Linked DNA regions of Homo sapiens: region 1 is linked to region 2. The links are contacts of gene promoters, found by promoter capture Hi-C in blood cells and fetal thymus (Javierre and others, 2016). All regions are on one chromosome and are shown on one strand. Each heading gives the region's core, a stretch centred on a gene start or on the middle of the fragment in contact. The rest is flanking DNA. Distances are from core to core; before and after follow the strand shown. Region 1 has its middle 55 kb from the start of BAIAP2L1. Region 2 holds the start of NPTX2 (neuronal pentraxin 2).

What was found. Contacts are between HindIII fragments. The CHiCAGO score rates a contact against its expected background, and 5 or more counts as called.
Region 1: a fragment that was not itself captured here is called in contact with the fragment with the promoter of NPTX2 in region 2 in 1 of 17 cell types (naive B cells); the score reaches 5.2 in naive B cells.

The regions. Positions count from the first base shown.
Region 1 is chr7:98,454,043-98,458,159 of GRCh38, reverse strand. It overlaps the pseudogene PPIAP82. Among named protein-coding and RNA genes, the nearest start is that of BAIAP2L1, 55 kb to the right of the region's middle. The HindIII fragment of the contact is 2,616 bases long and covers 897-3,512 here.
Region 2 is chr7:98,615,003-98,619,084 of GRCh38, reverse strand. It overlaps NPTX2 (neuronal pentraxin 2), which reads right to left and starts at 1,800. Exons shown (of 5, transcript NM_002523.3): 1 at 1,198-1,800. The coding sequence starts at 1,623. RefSeq lists an enhancer at 346-972. The HindIII fragment of the contact is 4,236 bases long and covers 1-3,772 here.

The DNA.
Region 1 (4,117 bases), core at 955-3,454, 160 kb after region 2:
AGGAGGGGCTTTGGGAATGCCTAGGACAGGGCTTCAGATGTCAGACTGCAAAAACAGATGATCTGTGTCCTCCAAGCTTGGGATTCAAAATCCAGGCTGCCTCCTCATATACACTGGGTCCCACCCCTCATTCATTCTGCACCCCCAACCTTGTGAGCCCACAGCTCAGAAATTCAGGGGTATCTCCACCATCGCCCTGCACCAGCGCCTTCTTGGGAAGAAGATGGCTATCACTGATGTCCTTCTCTGAGTCCCCAGCTCAGCATCTGTGCTGCAGAGGGGCAGCTGGCCCCAAGGTGGCTCTGATCATTCCAGGAGCAGGAGTCCCCTATGGTGTTTAGTAGGGGCAGAGCCAGGAAAATAAGCCAGCCTTAGGCTGGGTGCGGTGGCTCACGCCTGTAATCCCAGCACTTTGGGAGGCCGAGGCAGGTGGATTACTTGAGGTCAGGAGCTCGAGATCAGCCTGGCTCACATGCTGAAACCCCATCTCTACTAAAAATATAAAAATTAGTCAAGCATGGTGGCGGGCATCTGTAATCCCAGCTACTCGGGAGGCTGAGGCAGAAGAATCCCTTGAACTCCAGAAGTGGAGGTTGCAGTGAGCTGAGATCGCGCCGCTGCACACCAGCCTGGGTGACAGAGTGAAACTCCGTCTCCAAAAAAAAAAAAAAATCCTGCTGCTACTGGGGCTGAGTCCTCTAGAACCCAAAGGCCACAGATCCAAACTCAGCAGGTGTCTGAACCTTGCTGGTCCCCGTCCATGGTCATTACTGTCTGCCAGGTGGATCTCAGGACTCACCCTTGACATCTTGGGCCAGAGTGTCTCCCTGTTTACCCAGGTGGTGTGGAAGAGATGATGTGGACCCAGGAAGAGGAGCCGTCCTGGGGATAAAGCTTTCATCACAGAAAGCAAAGCAGAGATAGGAAGAAACCCTCATGACACTGGACTCACTAAATGAAACCCATGCTGGCACCCACTCTGCCTCTGGCCTTTCAGTCACATAAGCCAGGAAATCTCCTCTAATGTCTGAGCCAGAGTGAATGCAAACAGCTGAACATATTTTGATGAATGTGGCTGTGTCTTTGCGGTTCCTATCAAATGTCATTCCCATGCACCGCCATGCTCCCTGGGGAGGTATCGGGCCAATGGTCATAGGCGAACAGCTGTTCCACCCCCTTGGGCTTCTTTCTTAGAAACTCATCATATCCCAATGGACATTCAAAACGTTATCTTTTTACAAATCTATATCGAGCTTCTCTGGGTGTCCTTTGGAATTTACACAGTAGGATGTCCTGGAGAAATGGCCACTAGGCCTTTATTCCCTTGTATAACCTGAATATATTTGGCTGTTCTCATGGACCAGTCCTTGCAATGTATACTCATGTAAATCTTTCATATCGGCTTCGTCAAAAGGTAGGCCCAGGGGCTTTAGACAAATCTTTTCATGGAAATTTTCTGAAAATCCTCACCGGACATCTCTTTCTCTCTCCAAATTTCCCACTACTGGCATCTACTAAAATAGGTCTATAGCTTATTCACGCAGCACCCTGGCTACCATTTATTTCTCCCTCCTCCTCCCTGAGCCCCTCAATCCATCCTGGATTTCTGAATTTCTGCCCTGTGACTCTCCTTCTAATATGTCCTCCTTCCATTGTTCTTATTCTTGAGAATTAGCTCTTTCTTAAAGAATAGTAAATCAGGATCTCACGCATGCTCTCAATCCATGCACACCACCTCACACATTCAAACACACACTCACACATATACACATACTTACAAATGCACACATTCAAAGCTCACATACACATATATTTATATATCCTACGCATTCACTCATGCACTTACACAGACTCACACAAATGTACACACACATATACACAATGCACATTCAAACATATGTGTGCCCATTATGTGTACATATTCAAACATACATGTATCCATTATATGCATGAATTCAAACATACACGTACCCATTATATGCACACATTCAAACATACATGCTATTCATTGCAAGGACTGGTGCATAAGAACAGCCAGATAGATTATGTGTGGTTTGAATGTGTGCATTCCATTATAGCAGCCGCCTTGGACTAAGACACACACTCACAGTTATGTATCCTTACACTCACATAGACACATACACCCTACTCACTCCCAGACACACACACACACACACACACACACACACACACACACACACATTTTCCCTTCCTCTCAGGGGCTTCTAGCAATGCCACCAAACCCCATCAGGCTGGCTTCATATATCACACACTTTCACTCATGCTCTCACACAGACTCACACAAATGCACACACATGTACTCACAACGCATACATTCAAACACATATGTACTCATTATGAGCATATTTTCAAACATACCTGTATCCATTATATGCATTTCCTCCCAGAAGTTGGGGAGTTTGGCATCTCAGTGTGGCCAGCCCCTAGGTGTCAACACTCCTTCTCCAGCCCCTGGGATCTGTGCCCAGTTAAGGAGGAAGATGCTGCATACAGCTGTCCTTTCCCTGGTGGGGGCTGTCAGCCCATGGGGTGTTTCTTGCTTTCAGACCTGAAAAAGGTACAGGGTCATCCCTGCTCCTAGATTTCTGAAAAGTCCCTGAGTGGTCATGAAATCTGTCCCATTCATGGTGAGTCTGTGAAACGCCAGAGGATGGAAGAAGAGGCCATCCAGTGATGCTGCTGCTGATGCCCCTGCTACCCTGGTAGCATACTGGGGACATGGCGACTCCCTCTAGCCCCAACAGGCTCCTGGAGGATGTCTGTCTGCCTCCTCCCACTGGCACTGGCTTGTAGAGGTTGCCTTCAGAGCTTGGATACACCTGCATCATTCCCAGCTCCCCAGGCCTGCCCACTTCATTTTAGTCATTGATCCTGGGGGCTGCTGGAAGGGTTCCCCAGCTGGTGACTCTAACAGTGAGAATTCAGGACCAACTCCATTCTGCAACAAAATCCTGGTTTACTCAGCCATTCTTGCTTCCAAGGGGTTCTAACAAGCACCTGGCCCACCATGTCTGAATGTCCAGACTTAGCTCAACCACTACCAATTGGTGGGCCTCCAGACTTAGCTGAACCACCTCCAATGGGTGGGCCCCCTTCTGTTGAGATGCTCTTTAACAAATGAAGGCCAGCCAGACACTCCTCTGGGCAGTGAGACTGTCCACCTCAGAAATGGAGGCATTGGCCAGACATGGTGGCTCATGCCTGTAATCCCAACACTTTGGGAGGCCCAGGAGGGAGGATCCTCGCTTGAGACCAGGAGTTTGAGAACAGACCGGGCAACAAAGCCATATCCCATCTCTACAAATAATAATAATAAATTAACCAAGCATGGAGGCACACACCTCTAGTCCCGGCTACTCAGGAGTTTGAGGCAGGAGGATCGCTTGAGGTCAGGAGTTCGAGGCTGCTGCAATGAGCTATGATTGTGCCACTGAACTCCAGCCTGGGTGACAGAGTGAGACCCTATTTCTTGAAAAAGAGAGAGAGAAGCTTTGCAGACACTGCCGCCACCAGGAACTCTGTACTATCAGCCATGGTCAACCCCACCGTGTTCTTCGACATTGCTGTTATCGACGAGCCCTTGGGCCGCGTCTCCTTCAAGCTGTTTGCAGACAAGTTTCCAAAGACAACAGAAAACTTTCATGCTCTGAGCACTGGAGAGAAAGGATATGGTTATAAAGGTTCCTGCTTTCACAGCATTATTCCAGGGTTTATGTGTCAGGGCGGTGACTTCACACTCCTTAATGGCACTGGTGGCAAGTCCATCTACAGGGAGAAATTTGATGATGAGAACTTCATTCTAAAGCATACAGGTCCTGGCATCTTGTCCATGGCAAATGCTGGACTCAACACAAATGGTTCCCAGTTCTTCATCTGCACGGCCAAGACTGAGTGGTGGATGGCAGGCATGTGGTCTTTGGCAAGGTGAAAGAAGGCATGAAGATTGTGGAGGCCATGGAGCACTTTCGGTCCAGGAATGGCAAGACCAGCAAGAAGATCACCATTGCTGACTGCGGACAACTCTAATAAGTTTGACTTCTGTTTTATCTTAACCACCGGACCATTCCTTCTGTAGCTCAGGAGAGCACCCTTCCGG
Region 2 (4,082 bases), core at 551-3,050:
ACCATCATGTGGTTCTGGAGGCTGTGGCAGGCTGCCTACCCATGAGTTCATGGCAAGCTATTTACCTTTCTCCACAAAGTGTTCCAAATTGTGAAATGCACATAATGGGACCTGCCTCATGCCATTCATTGTTCCAAGGATTAAAAAATTAAATGATGTGCCTGACTCATATTTAGTGCTCCAGAAATGTTAGCTGTTAGCAATCACAATGAATCAGGGGATATACAGATGCTGGAAATACTGTATTCAGCCCTCACGCCAAAAGAAACCCTAGAGTCATTTTTGCAATAATTACCACCTGTAATTTAAACCTAGTTTTGCTGAGAAGTATTTTCACAAAGGCTATTAACAGCAGTGTCCACACTTCTTAAAAAGGGTGGAGCCTAAAGATGAAAAATAATTGAAGATTTTTCTCTCAAAGTTCCAAACTGCACGCATTTTCAGAGATAGAGATGAGACGGAGGCGGGAGCGGGGGGCGGGGGGGGGGGACGGAGGGGGAGGGGGGGAGGGGGGGAGAGAGAGAGAGAGAAGGGAATGAGGTCCCTTCCCCTGAAGCAATCCGGAAGAGCACCTTAAAATGGTCCAACTTGCAGACACGGGAGTCTTTGAAGTTAACCAGAGGTTGCCCCTCTAATGCGCGCTCTGGGGTCGCCGGTGACCCCCTGCGCTCGCCTCCCTGCGACCTCCGCCCCCAGACTTCCGCCCCCTCTAGCTCAGCCTGACCTGATTTAAAGAAAGAAACACCACATGCCCGGGGCAGCTGACCTCCCGCGGCAGCCTCGCAGCAACCCGCACGGCCTGCGGGAGCGCATCCCGGCTCGCGGAGATTTGGAGATTTGCAAGAGGATAGAGGCTACCGCGTCCCCGGGTATTTGGCGCCCGCGGCTTGGCCGTCTGGGTTCGCTAGCCCGGACCTCGGGAAGTGCTCGGCGGATCCCGCTGGCAGTCCCGACGCGCGGGGGTGGAATTTAAACGTTTCCTTCCAGCAAGAGCAGCGGTGTGGGAAGGGATACCACGCAGGGGAGTTCCCGAGCAGGATCTAGATCCCCGCCTTTCACCCTCAAGTCCAGCTCACCCCCACGGACGATCACACCCTCCCCAGGGCCAGGCCCCCTTTCCCCATCCTCCCGAGTCTTCCGCCCCCGACTCGGGAGCGTCCCCATTCCAGGTCCCCCGCGCTCCCCGCGGGCCGCTACCTCGAGGCTCTCCAGGCGGTCCTTGAGGGTCTGCAGCGAGCGGCTGAGCTGCTCCACGACGTGGCCGGGGTCCCGCGGCAGGTCGCCCATAGTGTCCTTGCCCGTGGCCCCCGCGCCGCGCGCCTTGCCGCCCGCCAGCCCCTCGCAGCGCGCTAGCTTGCCCGTGAGCTCGCGGATGGCCTCGCGCTGCGCGCCCAGCGTCTCCTTCTGCTGCACGACGGTCTCGCGCAGCTGCAGCACCGCGGCCCTCAGCTCCTCCTCGGGACTCTGCGCGCCGCCCTGCATGGGCATCGCGGGCAGCGGGCAGCCGGCGTGCACCGCCTCTGGGGGCAGTGCCGTGCACACGAAGCGGCTACCGGGCGCCGGGCTGTCCTGGGCCCCAGCGGCCACGGCGAGCGCCACGCTGGCGGCCAGCAGCGCCAGCATCCCGCCGCCGCTGCCGCGCTCAGCTCGGCATGGGCGAGCGGGCGCCGTCGGGGCGCTCCGCGGGAGGCGCCTTCGCTGCTGGCAGTAGCCGCGCTGTCGTCTCGAGGGTCGCGTGCACCGCGGGGCAGAAGTCTCCTGCCGTCTCACAGCCGCACCCACCGCGCTGCTCGGCACTCTGGCCTGCCGGGTCCGCGCGCCCTTTCTTAAGCTGAGGGGCGGAGGGGGCCGGCGTGTGGGGCGCGCGCCACGAGCTCTGATTGGCTCGGCCGGGTGCGCGTCACGCAGTGGGCGGAGCGGGGCGGGGCGGGGGCGCTTTCCGTTGCGCGCCTGGCGGCCGGGCGGGAGCGTGGGCCGGAGCCTGAGGCGAGAGCGCGAGGTCCCGGGCTCTGCCTCAGGAAAGGAGGCCTGAGGTGGAAAACGACACTGGGGCTCTCGAGAGCCTCGGCTGGCCGTGCCCAGGCGCCCCTCGAACCCACCCGAGGACGCGGGCGTCACAGGCTGAGGAGAAAGTGGGAACCCCTCGGTGTCCCGGTGCCCCTTTCTCAGGGTGGCTTCTGGCGCGGCACGGGGCCTCGCTGCGCGTTTGCCGCCGCCCTCAGGGAGGCGTTTTCTCCAGCAGGAGCAGCCCCCCAGGCGGGACTCGAACCCCGACTGCCATCGCGAGCCACCCCCGCGGCAGGCGTGGGCCTTCTCGTCAAGGCCCGGCCACCTCACTCTCGAGGCGGGAAGGAGCCGCACGACGGCCGCCTCCGGATGCAACGGTCCCCGGGACGCGCTCCATGGCCCCGCCTCCACCCCCCGCGCCAACTCGGAAAACGCTCGGGAAGAATCCCGGGGGCCTCGGGGACCGGGACCAGGACCAGGCGCCGGACGCTGATGGGAAGGAGGGGACACCCGGAGTTAGGGACAAAGTCACGAGGCCACTCGCAGAGCCCTCGCGCGCGTGTTCATCGACTGCCCCCTGGGCGGTGACCTTATTCAGCAAGACCTGAGCTCAGGGGCGGGGTGACATCTAACTGGAGTCATCATGATGGAGCCACGTGGTCCAACAGTGCCCGGTCCTTGTAACCAGGAGGGCCCGCAGTGTCACCACTTCCTCGAAGTGAGGCCACTGCCCTCAGCTTCTTGGAGACAGCAGATATGAGCAGAAACCCCCAAAAGTCAGGAGCAAATTTGTTTCAGAATCTCTCCAAATCTGTGGCTTAAAACAAGTTCAGAGGGATTTTGGTGCACAGCTACAGACTGAGCTGGTTTACTGCACATTTATAAATGGAAATCTTTATTTCTTTTCCTCTCTATGTTTTTAAGAAATCCTGTTGCAAGGTCATTAATCACGTTATCCATTATACCACAAACAAATGGATTTGTCACTTGTGCGCAGAAGCCGAGGTTGATTCTGAAAGCAAATTGTACCAAAATAAATGAAATTATTATGATAATATAAACTAGACTGCAGTGATTAATCTCTAGAAACCAAATTCTGACCTGCTTTGCACTTCAAACAATAGCTTCTATTATGTAAATAGTTGTGGGGTTTTCAAGGACATTATTGCTAAATTATAAGAAAAGTTCTATTCTTGAAAATCTCTTCGTGGATAAAAATGAGAGACAGGAACCTGGTCTGCAAGGTATCCAAAGCAGAGGACAATGGAAGTAATGATGGTTCAGGTAAGAATATTCATTAGCAGAAAAAGGTATGGATGGGAGATTTGGGGTGAGTAATGGGCTCATGTTTCTGTTAGCCTGCATCCCCAGGAGGTGTCAGTTTCACCTTGTTAAGTATGACCTTGACTGGACTCATTCTTCCTACATCCTTTTTCAGCTGGATGAAAACTCGAAAAAGTTCAAATAAACCTACATATGCACAAATTACAATAATGAAGGCAACAGGGTTGCAAAGCACTTTATGCCTTGTTACATTTCAGATGATTCATAAGGCACCAAATCCAGACGTTTTCAAAATTATTCAGATAACGATGTGACTTTTCCATTTTCACTCATAGCTTTGATGTTCCTCTTTACTTGTAGACCTAGGTGGCCCTTAATTGGATGTGACAATAGAGTATTATCGTTCCTGTATTGTTCCATATATCCTTTCTTGACACACAGACTGATACATTCATATTTGCAACTACTTGAAGTAGAAGCTTGTTCCTTTAATAATTAAACAAAATCAAGTATCTTTCCAGAATTCTAATTTCCTCCTGAACAAAGAAAGCAGTGTACAAGAGTAAAAATAGCATATATCCCAATATAATTACTCCTAAACGTCTTAAAAGAGATTCCAGTATGAGAAGTGATCAGTGAAATTGCCAAAGCTCAAATGGAAAGACCCAGACATTTGAAATGTTATTTTCTTTGGAGGCAGTATAATTAGAGGCTTAGTTAACAGAGTACATGCTATTTACAGTTTTATTTTATCTTCCTGGTGCAATGAAAAGCCTGCTGGCTTAGGAATG